Regions from separate parts of the Homo sapiens genome. Here region 2 is linked to region 1. Evidence: promoter capture Hi-C in 16 types of primary human blood cells and fetal thymus (Javierre and others, 2016). All regions are on one chromosome and are shown on one strand. The core of a region is centred on a gene start or on the middle of the fragment in contact, and the rest is flanking DNA. Distances in the headings are between cores, read along the strand shown. Region 1 holds the start of ZNF84 (zinc finger protein 84). Region 2 holds the start of ANKLE2 (ankyrin repeat and LEM domain containing 2).

What was found. Contacts are between HindIII fragments. The CHiCAGO score rates a contact against its expected background, and 5 or more counts as called.
Region 2: a contact is called between the fragment with the promoter of ANKLE2 here and the fragment with the promoter of ZNF84 in region 1, in 9 of 17 cell types (total CD4 T cells, activated CD4 T cells, monocytes and 6 more). The highest score is 13.3, in total CD4 T cells.

The regions. Positions count from the first base shown.
Region 1 is chr12:133,035,512-133,039,078 of GRCh38, forward strand. It overlaps ZNF84 (zinc finger protein 84), which reads left to right and starts at 1,998. Exons shown (of 5, transcript NM_001289971.2): 1 at 1,998-2,034. ZNF84-DT (ZNF84 divergent transcript) reads right to left here and starts at 1,711. Exons shown (of 3, transcript NR_110091.1): 1 at 1,258-1,711. RefSeq lists an enhancer at 1,615-1,704 and a silencer at 1,925-2,104. The HindIII fragment of the contact is 6,122 bases long and covers 622-3,567 here.
Region 2 is chr12:132,760,039-132,763,605 of GRCh38, forward strand. It overlaps ANKLE2 (ankyrin repeat and LEM domain containing 2), which reads right to left and starts at 1,794. Exons shown (of 13, transcript NM_015114.3): 1 at 1,580-1,794. The coding sequence starts at 1,760. RefSeq lists enhancers at 1,140-2,008, 2,363-2,462 and silencers at 1,243-1,832, 1,923-2,212. The HindIII fragment of the contact is 14,066 bases long and covers 1-3,567 here.

The DNA of each region.
Region 1 (3,567 bases), core at 748-3,247:
GCTCGCTGCAATCTCCACCTCCCAGGTTCAAGCGATTCTCCTGCCTCAGCCTCCCGAGGAGCTGGGATTACAGGTGTGCACCACCACGCCCAGCTAATTTTTGTATTTTTAGTAGAGACAGGGTTTCACCATGTTGGCCAGGCTGGTCTCGAACTCCTGACCTCAGGTGATCTGCCCGCCTCGGCCTCCCAAAGTGCTAGGATTATAGGCGTGAGCCACCGCGTCCGGCTAACAGAAATTCTTGAGCTTACAGGATGGCAGATAAGAAACAGTTTGCTGAAACTCCGTTTGTAATATAATACAACTGGCTGAAATCAGTTGAAACCAATATAACCAAACGGAGTCCATGCAGAATGAGCTTGCTGATGTCGCAGCCTGAATTTCCACTGCACTTTTCACACTAACTCTACCTTAATTTGCACATGGGACCCAAGAAGAGGCTTGAAGAGACAACTGCACATGGTCGGGGACTTTCCAGACTTCCTTTTTCCTTCACCATTCACCTGTGAATCCCAGAATCCACCCTCTAAACCTTTTTTCACAATAGTGCTGCCTTAAGGGCAGCACAGAGAGATAGATTTGAACTAAACTCCTGTCACTTTGTTGGTCAACTCGCAATTAAGCTTTTCTTTTCTCAAACGCCTGGTGCCATAGTATTGGCTTCTGTGCACATCGGGCAATGAGGTCTTTTGCGTAGCAGTATTTGGATATCCGGTTTCCTCACGCTATTTATTGAAGCGACTGTCCTTTCCCCATCGTGTATTCTTGACACAAGATTAGTTGACTTGCCTAAGATTAGTTGACTGTATATGCATGGGGTTATTTCTGGTTTTTCTACGCTGTTCCACATTGGTCCATGCGTCTGTTTTTATGCTAGTACTTCACTGGTGAGTTCTACCTCTGGGAATAAATATAAGAATTCTCTAATCACTGGATGTTTGAAGCAATTCACTAAGCAACTCATTATGATGCTTTCTGGCAAAGGATCTCTGAATTTGTCTTCAAATTGTGGATAAAATTGGGTCAAATTTGGCCCATGTTGTCCTGGAGAATCATTTGTGTCACAAATTATCAAATTTATTAGTATAGAGCGGATTTTCATTCAATTTCCTATGTGTCTATGGTTATTTCTCTTTTTTCATCTCTCTCCTCCATCTCCCCGGCCCCATCTTGCTGTCATAAGCATCGTGACTTACCTATAATTCTCCCTACGACTCCAGTTATGGATCAACTTTACTTTTTTCTGTTAATTCTTACCTTCTTTCCATAAATATATTTAAATTTTTTCTGGTTTCCTCAACTGAAGTCAAACCAATTGAGTATTGGTGGGCCGGGCGCGGTGGCTCACGCCTGTAATCCTAGCACTTTGGGAGGCCAAGGCGGGCGGATTGCCTGAGCTCAGGAGTTCGCGACCAGCCTGGGCAACACGGTGACTCCCCGTCTCTACTAAAATACAAAAAAATTAGCCGGGCGTGGCGGCGGGCGCCTGTAGTCCCAGCTACTCGGGAGGCTGAGGCAGAAGAATGGCGTCAACCCGGGAGGCGGAGTTTGCAGTGAGCCGAGATCACGCCACTGCACTCCAGCCTGGGTGACAGAGCGAGACGCCGTCTCAAGAAAATATATATATATATTGGTGGATTCGGTTTCCCTTTATGTTTCTCAGAAAACCGTGTGAGCCCGTTTGGAGTCACTCCGTCTCCAAGCGACAGGCACTTCCGGACGCGGGGCACTGTGGGAAGTTGAGTTCGCGGGGCTCCTTCCTTCGCGCATGCGCACATGCACTCTTGGTAATGCTTGCAGGTGGCCCGTTCTTCCTCTTTGTCCTTCGCTGCCACGTGAGAGGGGAGTGTACGCGTGTGCGCGCGTGCGAGTGTGCGCGTGTGCAGTCCCCGACTCGTCCCGGCCCGTTCGGAGCCGCCCGGGAGCGCACAAAGGCCGACGGTTTGGGCGCGTGCGCGGGACACGGGGGACGGGCGGTGTCACGTGATCGCGAGGCCGCGGGCGCGCGGGCGCGACTCGGCGGCGGCGTCTTTTGTGAGTTCAGTGAGTTTATTGCGGGCCCGGCGCTGGGGGCTCCGGGAATGGCGGGGGAGGCGCGCGGGAGTGGCCGCGGGGAGCTTCGGCTTCAAGGCCCTGGGCGTCCGCGCGCGGATGCGGGTCTGGGGCGGGTTGGGGCTGGGCCGGGTCGTGAAGATGCCGTGGGCCGCGGAGCTGCGCGGATTCTGGGCTGTGGGGCGGGCACGGCCTTTCCGGAGGCGCCGCTCCTGGGCGTCCTTTCAGGCGGGCGTGGAGGCGCCAGCCTCGGGCGCGTTTAGCCTCGGGCGCGTTTAGCCTCGACCTCGGGCCAGCCCGCTTGCCGCGCCGTGGCCCTAAGGAGCGGCTGCCCTGCTGGACCGCATCCACCAGCAGCCTGGCTCTGCCGCTATCGAAGGAGGCTTTTAAAGCGCTGGGGTTACAGGTGTGAGCCACCATTCCTGGCCGTGTATTTTTTAATGGTTATATTTATTGACTGTTTTAAATTTTTTAAGTGACTTTTGCTTTTGGTATGGTGTAGCGAAATCTCCCCTCAAATTATACATATATTCATTCACCTGTGGTTTTTTTTTGTAGACATTCTTAGGGTTTCCATTATTTTAAAATTTAACCCACTGAAAGTAGTTGTATGAAATAGCTACGTTTATTTTCTTTCAAATATTCTTGTATTCATTAAATAATTTAATTTTACTGATGGCTTTGAAATGCTACATTTATTGCATGCTGACTCTTGCATATTTAGACAGTTTGCTTTTTTTCATCTGTATAACTTCTCTGGAGCCAGTGTCAAATGTTATAATGATTATAATTTGTATGTATTACAGTGGGCCTGTTCACACTCATTATTTTGTATTTCCAAAAGCATCCAGGCCCGGTGTGGTAGGGCATGCCTGTAGCCCCAGCTACTCTGTAGGTTGAGGTAGGAGGATCACTTGAGCCCAGGAGTTCAGGGCTGCAGTGAGCTATGGTTATGCCATTGCACTTCAGCCTGGACAACACAGTAAGACCCTGTCAAAAAAAAAAAAAAAGTGTCCGAATTGTTCTTGAACCTTTTTTCTTACACATAAACTTTAGAATTTTGAGATTCTGATTGGAGTCGATGAGTTATATAAATCATTTGAGGTCAAATTATCTTCACAATCTGAAGTCTTCCTATCCCAGAATAAAATCGAATTATAAATTTCTTTAATTCTATTTTTATAGTTCTCATTGGTGTTTTTAGTATGCTTCATATGGGTCTTGATATTCCTACATATTTTATGTATTTTGTCAATTATGAGTCGGATTTTATTTTTTTGTTATTTTATGTGAGTTGTTTATATCTTACAGAAATAAGGTTATTGACCTGGAAAGATGTTCTTCACATAATGGGAAAAAAACAAAAACAGCTTTTAAATATGACCATATGCTTCCATTGTATGAAAAATATCACAATAGTTTCCATCATCCTAAGAATGGTTACCTGTGGTGAGATCATAGATAATAGTTCTTATTTAGCTTGTGTATGTTTTTTATATTTTGCCATCATATATT
Region 2 (3,567 bases), core at 544-3,043, 280 kb before region 1:
CAGGAGAATCGCTTGAACCCGGGAGGCGGAGCTTGCAGTGAGCCGAGATCGCGCCACTGCACTCCAGCCTGGGCCACAGGGCGAGACTACATTTCAAAAAAAAAAAAAAAAAAAAGTGGTAGGGCCGAGACACAAACTCACACAATTGGACAGGAATCCCCACTCAATCATCAGAAAGCACCTCTCCGCAGTGACTAACAGTCTGACAATTTAGAGTAAAAACAAACTCAGTTTCTCCCACTAGTCTTGCAACATGCTTCGGACACCAGGTATGTGGGGATTTTCTCCCCACAAATCACGCAGGTCGTCAGTTCTGCAGTGGACACAGGCTGGGTGTCGTCTGTCATCCTAATTCAGTCATCTATTCTGACAGCGTCTTCCTGGAGATACCAGCAGACCCCCACAGGTTAACGGCTCAGCCCCGCAAGACTGCCCCCCACTTCCAGTGCCCAGGTTGTTTGACCTGCGCTTGGGACCGACGGGGCGTAACCCGGTGACCTCCTCAGGTTGCGGTAATTTGCTAGAGTGGCTCCCGAACTCACAGACATGTTTTACTTACACTTACCAGCAGAGTATAAAGGATTACAAAGAATACAGGTGAAGAGATGCGTGACGTAAAACCGGGGGGAAGCGCTTGGAAATTCAGGGCCTCTCTGGGCACCGCCTCCAGGAACCCCCACGTACTATCTGGAAGCTCCCTGAACCCAGCCCTTTTGGGTTTTTACAGGAACTTCATTTCACAGGCGTGATTCATCAGCCACTGGTGATCAACGCAACCTTCACCCCTCTCTCCTCCCCAGAGGTTGGGGGTGGGGCTGAAAGTCCCCAGAACCTCTAACCCTGCCTTGGTCTTTCCTGCGACCAGCCCCATCCAGAAGCTCCCTAGGGGCTGCCGGCCACCAGTCCACTCAGCCTACAAAAGACATCACTTTGGAGGTTCCCGGGATTTCAAGAGTTGTATGCCAGGAAAAGGGGATGGAGCTGAAATACACAGTTCACTGTATCAGTTACCTCAAACTTAAAACGACCAAAACCCACCTCTGATCTCCACATCACCCAGACCCGACAGTCTACCGCAAAGCAATAAATGGCCACCTTCTCCCTCTTCCTCTGGCCCCAAACCCCTGAGTTACATTTGCCTTTTCCGTCTCTGCCTTATGTTCCATGACCAGTAACCGCAATGGCTTCACGTTCCAAACACATCCGGGACCCAGGGGTTTCCTCCCCGCGCCGCCCTCCTTTGGGCCATCCCTCCCCAGGTCTCGAGAGACCGCAGCAAGAGTCTCCGCTAACGCCTCGCCGGGCCCCCGCCGCCTTCCCCGGAGGCTGCTCCAGGGCCCGGGAAAGCTCTCACCCCCGAACCCGGCGTGGCCCCTCCGCCCCCGGCCCGGGAAGCCAAGTCCCCGCAACTGCCCTTTCCGCGGCCGGAATGGCCTTTCCCGACCGGCCCTGGTTTCCCCGGCCGCCTCGCCCAACTGCTGCCGGCTCCAGGGGCGCGGCCGGGACCCCAGGCCCGAGGAGGGCGTCGGGGCGGGGAAGGGGCCAGGGTGCGGGGACCCAGCGACCGCCTGGGCCTTACCTGAGGCGGGGGCGGCGGCCGCGCTTGGCGGAGGAACTGGGGTCCCGCTGCGGCCCAGACCTCCCGGCCGCGGGCCCAGCCGCCGCACCAGCCACCGCACAGCGATCAGCAGCACCGAGGCGCCCAGCAGCTCCCAGGCCAGCGCCGCCCACTCGGCCGCCGCCAGCCGCGGCCACAGCATCGCCGCCGCCCGGGCCGCAGCCGCCGAGAAGCCCGCGCCCCGCGCCGCGCCCGTCCCAGGACCCCGCGCCGGGCTGCCCGCGCCCTGCCTGACGGCGCCGCGCTCGAGGCGGCCGGGGCGGCGCGGGGGACACGGACGGCGGCCCCGCTCGCGGAGGCCCGGCGAGGGCGCGGCCCCGGCCCTGGGACCCAAGCGGGCGGGAACGGGCGAGCGGACGGGCGGGCGCGGCAGGCGGGGCGCGGGCAGCCCGACGCGGGGTCCTGGGACCGGCGAGGCGCGGGGAGCGCAATGTGCTGGCGGGGGCCGGGGCTGGGGCCCGGGGAGGCCACCAGGGCGGGGCCGGGCGCGGGGCGGCGCTTCTTCGCGCCTCCCGGCCCCGGCCTGGCGTCCGTGGGGCGCTGTGCGTCTCCGAGAACGAAGCGGCCTCCGGGTTCGTGTGCTCCGAGCCCGAGTACTGTTTGCGGCCGTCGTCCCGTCCTGGAGCAGGAGTGAGGAAGCGCCTCTCACTCCCCCGCGAACCCGCAGAACAGGCCGCCGGCGCTATGGAGACCGGCGGAGCTTCCCGCTCCTTCACCAAGGGGCCCTGACGCGCAGTTGAAAGCGCGGATTTTGCCGGGCGCGGCGGCTGCGTCCGGAGTCCCAGCGCCTTGGGAGGCGAGGCGGGAGGATCCCCACGGCCCGGGAGCTCGAGACCAGCCCGGGCAAATATTTTGAAAGTCATGGTAAAAGCCGCAATTACTTTTGCACCAACCTAATAGTGAGACCCTGTCTCGAAAAAGGGAAGGAGGATTTTACTGTATGTAATTTAGATGTTTTATTTATTTTTTGATGCGGTGTCTTGCTCTGTCGCCCAGGCTGAAGTGCAGTGGCGCGATCTCGGCTCACTGCAGCCTCCGCCTCCTGGGCTCAAGCGATTCTCCTGCCTCAGCCTCCCAAGTAGCTGGGATTACAGGTGCCCACCACCACGCCTGGCTAATTTTTGCATGTTTAGTAGAGACGGGGTTTCCTCATGTTGGCCAGACTGGTCTCGAATTCTTGATGTCAAGTGATCCACCAGCCTCGGCCTCCCAAAGTGCTGGGATTACAGGCGTGAGCCACCGCGCCCCGCCTAATTTAGATATTATTAAATGAAAATGAAAGACCTGAAAAATATAATTGATATCCTTGGTTAAAAACATAATTGATCTGAGCGAGGTGGCTCAGGTCTGTAGTCTCAGCAACTCTGGAGCGTGAGGGGTGATGGTAGTTTCAGTCCGGGAGTTCGAGGCTGCCATGAGCGTGATCTCGCCTGTGAATAGCCACTGCACGCCAGCCTGACCAACATAGCAAGACCCCATCTCTTAAAAAATATCATTGGATGGTACTAATGGTTGGTTGGGCACTACAGAAGAAAGGGTCAGTAATTTTGAAGATGGATGAAATGGAAATTCAAACCACGATGAGATGCTGCTTGAAATCCACCAGAATGGCTAAAATTTAAAAATTGGCAATATCAAATTTTGCTGGCAAGAGCAAACACTGAGTTAACCACCTTGGAAAATAGTGAGGCAGTTTCTTTCAAAGTTAAACGTACACCTCTGCTGTATTCTGAGTGTCTGTCCCCAGCGTTCGTATGTTGAAACCCTAACCCCCCTTGGCCGGGCGTGGTGGCTCACGCCTGTAATCCCAGCACTTTGGGAGGCCGAGGCGGGCAGATCACGAGGTCAGGAGATCGAGACCATCCTGGCTAACACGGTGAAACCCAGTCTCTACTAAAAAATACAAAAAATTAGCCGGGCATGCTGGAAGGCACCTGTAGTCCCAGCTA